2 separate regions of the Homo sapiens genome follow, and region 1 is linked to region 2. Evidence: promoter capture Hi-C in human tissues and cell types (Jung and others, 2019). All regions are on one chromosome and are shown on one strand. The core of a region is centred on a gene start or on the middle of the fragment in contact, and the rest is flanking DNA. Distances in the headings are between cores, read along the strand shown.

The links. Contacts are between HindIII fragments. The study calls those that stand out against the background at their distance.
Region 1: a fragment that was not itself captured here is called in contact with the fragment with the promoter of EFNA5 in region 2 in 1 of the 25 tissues and cell types used here (IMR-90 fibroblasts).

Annotation. Positions count from the first base shown.
Region 1 is chr5:105,918,569-105,924,747 of GRCh38, reverse strand. It overlaps the pseudogene RNA5SP189. Among named protein-coding and RNA genes, the nearest start is that of LINC01950, 1.1 Mb to the left of the region's middle. The HindIII fragment of the contact is 3,072 bases long and covers 1,557-4,628 here.
Region 2 is chr5:107,668,051-107,674,226 of GRCh38, reverse strand. EFNA5 (ephrin A5) reads left to right here and starts at 3,290. Exons shown (of 5, transcript NM_001962.3): 1 at 3,290-3,738. The coding sequence starts at 3,614. RefSeq lists silencers at 327-406, 1,778-1,847, 3,208-3,257, 3,828-3,897 and enhancers at 487-536, 438-937, 2,678-2,817, 3,528-3,657, 4,058-4,137. The HindIII fragment of the contact is 6,025 bases long and covers 1-4,854 here.

The DNA.
Region 1 (6,179 bases), core at 1,843-4,342, 1.7 Mb after region 2:
TCAACTTCAACAGCAATACTATATTGACATAATGTACAAATTAAATTTTTATTCATGTAAGAAGGCAGAAAGATATTTGGGGGAACAGAATTGTACCACGAAAAGACATAGTTAAAAGATGATTTGTCCTTATTCATTCTAAGACCTTGTGCAACTAAGTGACTTCATGCTTAAGACACTCATCTTGATCCCTTTCTTGCATGTGCAAAATGGGGAAATAGAAATACCTTTTAGAAGAGGTAAGCAATGTAAATTAGAAATGCAGAGCATGATATTTGGTGTTCTATGTTGTTTAAATCTTGGCAGATGCTTTTGTAGCTGCTGGTGTTCCCTCTGCAGTTGCTACTACAGATGTTGCAGTTGGTGATATTATGACTGCCACTTTTTTCACTAGAGAATAATTTCTCTGTATACCGGCAAAATGGCTAATTATTTACAAGTTAAAACAGCCAAACATACTAGTAGGTCTATCCATCAGCTTTTCTTTTAAAATGCCTTCTAAAAATTGACATAAAGTTAGCAGGCTGTTTTTTATAGCCCCTTAATTGTTTCTCCGAGTACTAAAATTTAAGAAGCCATGCAAATATCTACTGTGTAGCTCAAGTTATGCTCTAAATGATGACTTTGAGACACACAGAATAAAGAGTGTGAAAGGAACTACTCCTTTGCCTACTCCTTGATTTAAAAAATGAAGGAACAAGATTTAGAGTTTGAGCGACTTTAACAAAATACACACTATTCAAAACAAGTGATAATTAGAACCAGTTCCCCTACAAGTTGCTTCTTTCAAATAAGCCAATGACTGCTTAATATTACAACATTTGGTTGGAATACACCTCGCCTCATGATTATGCATTGGTTGAGGTTATTTCTGTTTCATCTTTCCCCAAAGAGTAAGATTCCTCCAATTACTACATTGAAAAAGAGAAGTCTACCAAGTTCCTAGGAGATACTTTCCTTAATATCTTGATAATACAGTGAGTGACCCATAGTTCCCAGAGATATATCATCCAGACAAAATAAAAAATGAAAAAGTTCTATGTCATTGGATATTTTAATGCTCTCATCATTAAAAAATTAATTAGTGAATTTATTTATTTATTTATTATTTCAGACAGGGTCTTCCTCTGTTCCCTAGGCTGAAGGGCAGTCGTGTGACCATAGCACACTGCAAACCTGAACTCCTGTGCTCAAGCAATCCTCTCACCTTAGCCTTCTGAGTATCTGGGACTACAGGTATGCACCACCACACTTGGCTAATTTTTATATTTTATTTTTGTACAGATGGCACCTTGCTGTATTGCCCAGGTTTCTACATTTTTGTATTTTAAGATTCTCTTGGTTTTTATTTTAACTAAAGCTTTAAATCTTTAGTTTCATTCCAACTGATATTTCAATTTGTCTTATTCTACCAAATAAAAATCAAATTGACATTTAATTTATGTTCCTACAAGATAATCTAAATTCTTCTATCTGTTGGGAAGAGAAAGGTATTGAAGAGGAGCTTCAAAGATTAATTGGCTTTAACTTTAAACACTGCATATATTACATAATAGACACAAATAATAAAACCTATAATTTTAAAATATTACTTTTTAAATTCATACATTTATATTCTGAAAAATATAGACTAGTCTACAGCCATGCCACCTTGAATGCACCTGATCTCATCAGATCTCAGAAGCTAGTTAAGCAGTGATGGGCCTGGTTAGTACTTGGATGGGAAAAATAGAGAACATATATTTAAAAAGCTTATTTAAACTCTCAACAACAAAAAAAGTATTATTATTTTATGGTACGTCCATGTGCCTTACCCCTACAGTAATTATACTGTAGCTCTTTGTGGACATTGAGGTAATTTAAACAACATACAATTTGCCAGTGATAATATGGCTCAGATGATAATATTAATATTTCATTACATCCCCATGATGTGAGTCACTACATGACCTGTTTGGTATGTTTTAGCTTCCTGTAAAAGTGTATACATAGATATATAAGTAGATGATTAATAGATTTTAGGTAGATAGATCTTTAGGCTCCTCCAAATTCCTTCCCTGTGTTAACCACAGAGGTAGAGTTTTCTGATATTCTCTTTATCTTTGTATTTATAGAATTCCATAGTCTAATTATACTATAGCCAGATTCTTCTACACCCAATGCCTTGAAAAAAATGCGAAATGTTATAAATCTTAAAATGCAGATATGGATGCACATTTTTTAAGATTTTGAAAATTTAATGTTATTTCAAATTTATTTCTAATTCTATAATAATGCTAATAACCCACAAAAGTAAGAGATTGACCTTAACAATTCTATTTCTTACATATATGACATTACTCTCCAGATTGACTAGGATATCTATGGTAAGAATTACATTTCAGTTGCTTAAAAGACCAAAAGGCAATGCTCTGTCTAGGCTACATGTGCATCATTAGTCATTTTGAAAGTTGTTGTTAATGTATGTGTCCTTACTCTGGGATCCAACCTGACAGAATGCCCATTATTTCCTGGAAAGAGAGAAAGAAAGGGTGGTAAAGTATGTGCTGTTTTTAATCATCTGTCTGGAAGGGACACATATTATCACTTCTGTGTATGCTCAATTGGATATATCAAGTCACATAACCTACTTCAAGTGAATAATAAAGGTGAATTCTACCATGTGTCTCAGGAAGAGAAAGATTTGTGAATAGCATACATGTCGAAAGCATGATATATTTTATCTTATCTGTTTTACCAATAATTTCATTAAAATGTTTCCATCCCAACATAACCATTCATTATTTTAGATAGCAGTGTTTGCTTTTATAAATATATATACCATAATTTTACAGATTCCTTAGTTGTTGCTCAAAAATTCATTTATATTTTTTCTAAATTATAAGCAATGCTTCTGCATGCTTTCTTTTATATACAACTGTATAAAATCATTTCCTCAGGCTATATAGTTCTAGAAAAATTGCTGAATCAAGAGTATTGCCCAAATTACCCTTCACAGTGAACCAAATCGTAATTCTACTACAAGCAGTGTCAGTTTGTTTACACATTCTTGAAAAATGAGCATTGTATAATTTGTGTTGTCCTTTTCACTTCTGCTTGTAAGGGATGCAATTTGATTTTTTAGTATGTATTTTGTTGCTTACTTGTAAGGTTTAATTTGATTAGCTCTGTTTTAGTAATTTGAATTTCCTCTAATGTAAATTTCTCCAAGTTTAAAAACTAATTTAAACCAGAAATTACAATAAATTATATATTTGTGACATAGCATAGGTAAATGACAACTGCAAGTATTACAAAGTGCAAGTATAGCATGTTTATTATTTTTTAAATTTAAATAAGATTAAATCACAGTAAAGTATTTACTATCAAAAATACTAATTAAAAAGGCAAATTTGAAGTAAAATTCACTTAAAAGTTATTTTGAAAGGTATGAGATACCATCTCACACCAGTCTGAACAGTTACTCTTATCTTTTCTTTCTTTTTTTTTTGAGATGGAGTTTTGTTCTTATTGCCCAGGCTGGAGTGCAATGGCATGATCTTGGCTCACCACAACCTCCACCTCCCAGGTTCAAGCGATTCTCCTGCCTCGGCCTCCTGAGTAGCTGGGATTACGGCCATGAGCCGCCACGCCTGGCTAATTTTTTATTTTTAGTAGAGATGGGGTTTCTTCCATGTTGGTCAGGCTGGTCTTGAACTCCTGACCTCAGGTGATCTACCCGCCTCGGCCTCCCAAAGTGCTGGGATTACAGGCATAAGCCGCTGAGTCCGGCCCAGAACAGCTACTCTTAAAAAGTCAAAAAATAACAGATGTTGGTTGGTGAGGTTACAGAGAAAATGGAAAGCTTATATGCGGTTGGTGAGACTGTAAATTAGTTCACCCCTATAGAAAGCAGTTAGGAGATTTCTCAAAGAACCAAAAATAGAATTACCATTCCACCGAGCAATTGCAGTCTTGAACATACACCCAAGGGAAATTAAATCATTTTACCAAAAAGACCCCTGTATTCACATGTTTATCACAGCATTATTCACAATAGTAAAGACATACAATCATCTTAGGTGCCCATCAGTGGGAGAATTAGATAAAGGAAATGTGGTCTATATACACCACTGAATACTATGCAGCCATAAAAAAGAACGAACTCATGTTTTTGCAGCAATGTGGATGCAGCTGGAAGCCCTTATCCTACACAAATTACCACTGAAACAGAAAACCAAATACTGCATGTTCTCACTTATAAGTGGAAGCTAAATATTGGGTACACATGGACACAAAGATAGGAAAAACAGACAATGGGGACTCCAGAAGGGGAGAGAGAGTAAGGGAGGTAAGAATTGAAAAACTACCAATTTGGTACTATGTTCAATATTTGGCTACCAGATCCAATCTAAGTACAAACCTCTATCCATGTAACAAACCTTCACATGGTACTCCAATTGAGAGAAATCAAGTTGAAGATTTACTATTAAGTGCACTTAAAAATATTGTGAAAGTTTACTGTTTCATCATTTCCATTAAGTTCAAGCTCATTGAAATAACTAAAATTATAACTTTCTTACCTAGATAAGGCTACCTGAGGATATAATAGGATGGGAGATAATAATACAGAGAAAACTATTTTGTTGCATTTTTATAATTGCTTTTGCTTACAATTCACTTATAAAATTTTGTTCTTTTGTATTTTCAACCCTTTTGGGTCTTTTTAAACATATCTCTTTTAAGTAATACATAAATCAATACTGCTTTTTGCTTCCTCCTACAGAGATATTTTGACTTTTAATTTTTAATTTTAATCTATTTACACATATTATGTCACTGATGTATACTGGGCATACTATTTTCTATTTTGTTTTAATTTTTTGTCTTTCTTTGAGTGGCCTTCTATTTGAGTGATTAAGGGGAAATTGTGTCCTTTTTTGATTTTTAAAGGGCAGCATGGTAATAAGGATATCTTCCTCTGTTGTTGGAGTGTTAGGACTGCTATGTGGATAATTATTTCAAACGTCTTAGGTGTCTCAGCCATGGAGAAGGAAAGAGAACAAAAGCAAAAATCATAAAATAATCTATAATTCTTTTACTTATACCATTGTGGCCTGATTTCATGGGTATTGTCAAGATTATTTTCCATTGCATTTGTAACTTTAATCTGAAAATGTCCTGTCTCACAGACAGCTGCCTTCTCTCCTTGAGTCATTTTAGTGTTTTATTCAACAAATACTTTTGAGTACATTATTTGCTGAGACACTGTGGTAGATGTAAAGACAGGAAATCATAATAAAGTTATAGAATCATGTTTTATCCTTTGTGATTCTTGAAAGCATACAATTTCACCATGAAAATTTCATAATTTTATACATTTTATAAAATTGGTTTTCAAAATTATCTTTTCATTCTCAAGCTATGTCAAAGCTTAGATAATTTGCAACTATGCTAAATTTCACAAAGCACACAGTAATTATGGAGTCATTTTGATAGGCACAGTCCACATACTAACAAATGTTAGTTGCTTATAACACGCCTACCCATGACTTTTTACTATACCATCAACATACTCCAGCATCAAATTCACATACTCTACCTTCAAAGATGTGTATGCGTGCATGCATGTTGATATGGTTTGTGTCCCCACCCAACTCTTATCTTGACTTGTAGCTCCCATAATTCCCATGTGTTGTAGAAGAGACCCAGTGGGAGATAACTGAATAATGTGGGTGGTTTCCCCCATACTGTTCTTGTGGTAGTGAATACATCTCGCGAGATCTGATGGTTTTATAAGGGGAAACCCTTTTCACTTGGTTCTCATTTCTCTCTTGCCTGCCACCATGTAAGATGTGCCTTTTGCTTTCTGCCATGATTGTGAGGCCTCCCCAGCGATGTGGTACTGTGAGTCCATTAAACCTCTTTTTCTCTATAAATTACCCAGTCTCAGGTATGTCTTTATTAGCAGTGTAAAAACGGACCAAAACACATGTGGGTGGAACTTTAGAAGTATCCAGGACTGAAGTTTTAATAACTATCTTCTCAAAAATAATACACATGCCACAGATAAAAGTATCACAATTGACCACAAAATGTCTGTATAAAGAAATTTTAAATGGTGGGTATACTGCAAGCCCTTTTCAAAAGGAAAAGAAAACTGCATGAGCAAAGTGCATTTTAATAGGGAATCTACATAA
Region 2 (6,176 bases), core at 2,041-4,540:
TCTCACTGCTGGAACTTTGTGAAACATACAGATGATGGAGGAGCATTTGTGTCGACATTCTGAATTTCAATTTTTAATAATTAGGCAGATGGTTGGTTTGTGGTAAAGTCCATTATTGTACAGATTGCAATTTGTATCTAGTCACAAAATATAAGTTACTTTCCTAGGACGATTTCAGGATCTTTTCAGATAGGAAATATTACTGTAATTGAAAAACGACTTAACTTTTAGCCAAGAGCCCATAACATCCAGGTACCTCCGTGCCCCTATGAACTGTTTCTTTTCCTCTCGAGTCTTTATTGGTCATAGCCCTAGATTTCCCATCAAATTCAACCCGGCCTGAGCGGCAGGCAATGCCCCTGCTGGGTGCGGATTGCAGGCCCACCACTGGAGGGCGTCTGGACGCTTCTAAACAGCTCTGAAGCGCCTGGAAATCCCGTCTGAGGACTGGAAAGCGCAGGAGGGTGAACGTGAGATTTGATTTTATTGGGCTAATAAGTAAAAAGGAGTGCAGGCAGGTGTGGGAGCAAAAGTAAACTGCCTTTTTTCTCCTGGGGATCTGCCCTTCCCACTAAGGCAGAAAACTCCCTAGGGAACATGAGAAAAAATACCGCTGCTCCCGAGCCCGCGGACCCCTTAAGGGCGGGTCTCGGGGGCCTGTGGCCCCGCAGAGCAGGCGTCGGGCTCACTTCCTGGGCGCTGGACGACAGTGGGGACGCGTCCCGAGGCGCTGGGACAGTCTCGCTGCCAGGAGATCGCTCTTCAGTGGCGGCTGAAGACCAGGCTTGCAACCTGCCCTTGAAGTCCAGGACCGAGGGGCCTTTTCCAACAATAAAGGAACTGCTTTTCTTCCCACAGCCCCCGCCCCCGGCCCTCATTTCTTTCCGCACCGGGTTCGATAAAGGCGTTTATTCTTTGGGGAGTGGGCAGCAAATCACCCTCAAGGTTGAAATGGAAGAGGTGTGAGGTTATTTCTGAAGGGCTCGTCTGCCGCATTCATTTCCTCTCTGTGGAAGGTTCGCGCTGAATTGTAATCACTTTAAACTGTGATTTGCCTGATTTTTAAAAACGTGTTTTCAGAGCATCACTTTAAAGAAAACTTGCTTCCTGCCCAAGAATCTTTAAATCCCAAGTGGGAAGAGGAGGGCTGAAAGGCACAGGAGGGGTGCTCAGACTTCCAGATAACCCAGCGCCAGGCAGCGTGCGGCGTGGAGAGCGGGTGGAATGGACAGGAACGCGCACTCCCTGAGGCTCCGTTCCAGCCCATCCGTCACCTGCGGGGCACCAGAGACAGATGCCGGCTCTCCAGCCAAAGGGTGGGCACAGGTTCCTTTAAAATCGAAAGACCCTACTCCCAGGTAAAAAGATGTCAAATCATTCCTTAGCCCAGACGGAATTCAGCACCCAAAGGGTTACACGTGGCTGCCGGGCTCCGGCGCAGGAGAGGGCGCCTCGGCACTCCCAGTAATTCAATTAGTCAGGTTTCTAGAAGGTGGGGCGGGGGAGGGGGTAGGAGGCGTGGGGAAGGGAGATTAGGAAAACGCCTCTTTCTCGTGGAGCAAACCAATCCGGTTGGAGTAAAGAGAGAGGAAAAACCCCCAATCTGTAAGCAAACAGTAGGCCGTTCCCTGACTGGTTGCTCCAGCTATCCCCCCACCGCGCTCCCACCCTTCCCAAGTAAACTGCTTGGAAGGAGGAAAAAAAAAAAAAAAAAAAAAAAGACAGTCCACATGACCCGGGCCGCAGCGGCAGCAGCGCTGGCTGGGCGCGGGCTGGCGGCACCTCCCCCTGCTTCGTCCGGAGCTCACACCCGCGCTCGCGCCGCCCGCCCGTCCCGCGTCCCGCGCAACACGCCCGGGCGGAGCCCCATCCCCCCGCCCACGTCCACGTTCACGCGTGCGGCCTCGCGCTCTGCTGAGGCTGCTGCCACTGGGTCGCCGCCGCTGTCGGCTTTCCACGCAAGTCATTAACGAGGGGGCGTGCCCGAGGAGATTTTTTTTCCCATAAAGCATTTTTTCTCTCGCTCTCTTTTTTTCCCCCTCTTTTGCAAAACTGACTTTTACAAAACCCTTTCCACTTCTTGCCAGTCGTTTCAATTCCTCCTGGGCTGCTCGTGCTGCTGCTGCTGCACTCAAGTTTATTTATTTTCCCGCCTGGGTAGGGGTTTTAGGATTCGGTTTGTGGTTTTCACCTCTGTTGCTGCTGTGCCTAAGGAGGGAAAGAGGAGCAGCTGCGGGAGGATCGGGAAGGTTTTCTGATGTAGTCATCGGGGAGGTGCCACTCGCTCGTGCGCTTTTTTTTTTTCCTCTTTTCCCATTTCAAACTGATTGATGCATCTCTACAAGTTGCTAGGCTTGGACCCGCTGGAGTCGCAGGGACACTTCTGAGAGCTCACCCCGGGCTCTTGGCACCGCGTGTGGGGGCTCAGTCTCCCTCTCGGAAGGCGATCGGAGACTGACATCGGCCCATCCAGGAGTTGGAGGGATCCATTTGAAAGTGATTGTTTCCCCTCCCGCTCTCCAGCCGAACAGTTGGGTTGGCGTCGTCTTGCAGGTTTAGGAATCCCAGCTCTGCCAGGCCGGCTGGTCTTAACCTCTGCTCTTCATTCACTGTGGTGCACCCACACCCAGCCAAGGAAAGCACGCGCGAGAAATCCCCGAGGCTCGGCCAGCCCCCGGGGTGCCCTCTTCCGCTACCGCCGCGTTCCGACTCTGCTGGGGGACCTGCCGGAAGACGCGAAGAGCCAAACTTTTCTTTGAGGTTTTCGAGGCAAGACCGCTTCGAAAGCCGGCGCAGCTGCCGCTTAACCAGTTCCAGGACACCGACAAGGCTGGGTTGCGGCTCCGGATCCCCACCCTTCTCGGCGCACCGCCCGGTACCGCAGCACTTACGACTCCTCTGAGATTTCTGGGGGTCGCCCCGCTAAGGCACAGAGGAGGCTGAGGAAAGGGGTTCTCAGACTCCCGGGACCACAAGCGCGAAGCCCTCTATCAGCACGTCGCCCTTCTCCTGCAGTTTCCCACCGGCCGCCAAAGTAACTTGGAGCGAAGCGTGGCGCAGTGCGAGGGCCCCGGGCGGTGGCGGAGCCGTGCGTAGCCTGCTGCGCCGACGCTGAGCCGGGCCCGGCGGGCCGGTGTATGTCTCCCCGCGGCTGCGGCGCGCAACTCCCGGTGACTGTGCAGCGCGCGCCGCCGCCTGCCCCGACCCGCGCTGCAGCCGCCCGGCCCGGCGCGCACCTCCCTCTCCCGGGGTGACCGGCCTGCCGCCGCCGCCCGAGACACAGCTTGGCACCTCTTCCCCCGCCCTCGCCGCCGCCACCACACACACGCACGCTTCTCTCCATCTTGTGATTCCTTTTTCCTCCTGAACCCTCCAGTGGGGGTGCGAGTTTGTCTTTATCACCCCCCATCCCACCGCCTTCTTTTCTTCTCGCTCTCCTACCCCTCCCCAGCTTGGTGGGCGCCTCTTTCCTTTCTCGCCCACTTTCATTTTTATTTATTCATATTTATTTGGCGCCCGCTCTCTCTCTGTCCCTTTGCCTGCCTCCCTCCCTCCGGATCCCCGCTCTCTCCCCGGAGTGGCGCGTCGGGGGCTCCGCCGCTGGCCAGGCGTGATGTTGCACGTGGAGATGTTGACGCTGGTGTTTCTGGTGCTCTGGATGTGTGTGTTCAGCCAGGACCCGGGCTCCAAGGCCGTCGCCGACCGCTACGCTGTCTACTGGAACAGCAGCAACCCCAGGTAAGCCGATAACAGGCGGAGAGCCAGGGCTACCCGGGCCTCGGGGCCCTGCGGAAGGAGCGGCGGCGGGGATCGGCGCGCACCAACCGCTGGCGGCGCGCACCCTCGGAGCCTGCGTCGCCCGGGCGCTGATGGCTTGAGGCGTCGGCGGGAAGCGCTCGCGTCGCGCCCCTCTTTGTTAAGCCGCCGCGGAAAGGCCAGGTACCCCTGGGAGTCCCCGGGGCTGCCTAGACCAACTGCTTCTGCGGGGCGCCGGGAGACTCGGAAAAGGGCGGGAGCCGGGGAGTAGGGACTTCTCTGCTTCCCAGCCCCGGCATCTGGCTGGCATCCGGTTCCCGGCGCGGGGAGCCCCCAGTGTGCGCAGCCGGGAGCTCCTTCCTGGAGCGTGGGTCCGCAGGGACTGCGGAGAGAACCCGCCAAACATCCCCCAAAGTTTTTTTTTTTTTTTTTTTTTTTTTAATTTTAATTTTCCCTTCTCTTTTCCCGGTGCGCGCAGAGAGAGCGCACGGGCTGGGGGAAGTGAGGGGGGCTGGGAAGCGGAAGCTTTAGGTTTTTATTTTCCTCTTCAACTGCGAGGAAATCATTCGGCCCCTGAGTCAGTCTGGGCCCGGCGCGCCTGGCAGTGGAGAGGATTCTCCCATCTTCTCCATCCCTCCACCCACCCCAGTGGGTTCAAGGTGCCAGAAAGTTTGATCTAATGCCGGGTTACGTCATGTGTGCAGAACAAGCTGCCAGAGTTGGCCGAGCCAGGAGGTGGGAGCCCTTCGCCCGCGGCCTGGCGATGTGCTGCCGGAGGAACGCGCGCGATTACCTGGAACCGATTTGTAGGCGTCCCGAAGCCCGCCGGGTATGCGGGAGACTAGAGGTGGGCGCCGGGGGCGGTCCTAGTGCGCGTGCTGGACACCGGCCAGTCGCAGACGTCCCGTGTTTTCGGACCCTGGAAGTGGAGTGGGGAGGTTATCCAGAGTGCCCGGCGGGGTCCTCCGGGTCTGGAGCAGTTCCGAACCTTTATTGCTTCCCGGCCTGTGCACAGAAGTCGGCCCCGCTAGGCCCATACCGCACTGCTTTCTCTGGGACAGAGGCTAGCTTCCAGCTGTGTGCCGGTCTCGGTGCCCTCCTAGGTGCTATTTATTAATAGTACCGATTGCATCTAAAGTCACAGGTTTTTCACTGGGCTGGAGTGGAAGTTGGGAAGAGAGAGGCGGGAGGCCGAGGGGTTAGCCTAAGAGTTGGTGCGCGCCCCGGGCTCCAGGAGAGAGGGTATCGGTGGGCGCCTCCAGTTTTTTCTATCTCCTGCGGGCCCTCTCCGCCTGCCTCCAGCCTCCCCTCAGCATGCAGGCAAGAGAGGGATTCCCTGCTTGAATAATGTCAGCGCAGATGAAGATGGGAAGATTTCCCCACAAGCAGTCCGCCGGTTACAGAACCAGGAGGGAGTTCCCCCTATCCCGCTAGTCCAAGATAGTCTTACTCAGGTAGCCGCCCAAGTCCTAAATGAACCGCTGAACAGGAGTGGAGATATTCCTGAAAGTTTGGTTCAAAAAACAAGAGTCTCCTGGAGGTGGGTGGTGGAATGGGAAGCGATTTCTTCTTTGACATGCCACTTACCACTATTAGGAAAAGAGAAAAAGAAGCCATCCTGCCAGAGGAGAGATGCCTTTTATTAAAGCTGACAAGACAAATAGAGCAAGCTTTCCAGTTGTGATGGTGTTAAAAGCCAGTCTCATTATGTTGGTTAGTTTTTTTTCCCCGTTTGTGCTTTATTAGGCAGCATATACGAAGCAGAAATTTGTATCTCTGAACTTTAGCACCTTATTAAATAAAGCAACACTGAAATAGTTTCTTTGAATTTGGGATATCTTGCTCTCGGTTGTCTTTTCTTTCCCACACCAAGCTCCACATTGTGATCTTTTTCTCATGGCATTCATTTATTTGGATACTTGGGTGTTCCAGTCTTCCTGGGTTAAAACGGAAAGAACCAGCAACACCCCTACTTTAACCCCCCTTCTTAACCTGTCAAGCTAGTCTGAGTTAGTTTGAGGACATTTTATCTTAGGTTATCTCTGTTTTGTGCTTTTGATACTGTTGTTTGGTTTGAGATTAGCACATTGATTTTTGTCACAGGTCATGTTTTTTAATAGATCTGCCCTGCCTGCAGAAAACTCTTCTGCTCAGGATGCCATGGAGGCTTTGAACCTGCCCAGACAAAGTTAATCTGCAGAATTTTAAAATACCAAGAGTATTTCTAAATCGGTATTCTAACTTCAGGTTTGTAGAATTACCTTTCTATTTGATCATTATCAGTTTGATAATGGCCAAAAGAAAGAATGATGTACCCCTCTTAACCCCAAGAGATACAGCCCTAACACTTATTATTCTTAGGAATTTATGGACACATTTATCTTGGTATGTTATCACAGTTAAAAACTTACTTTAAAAAC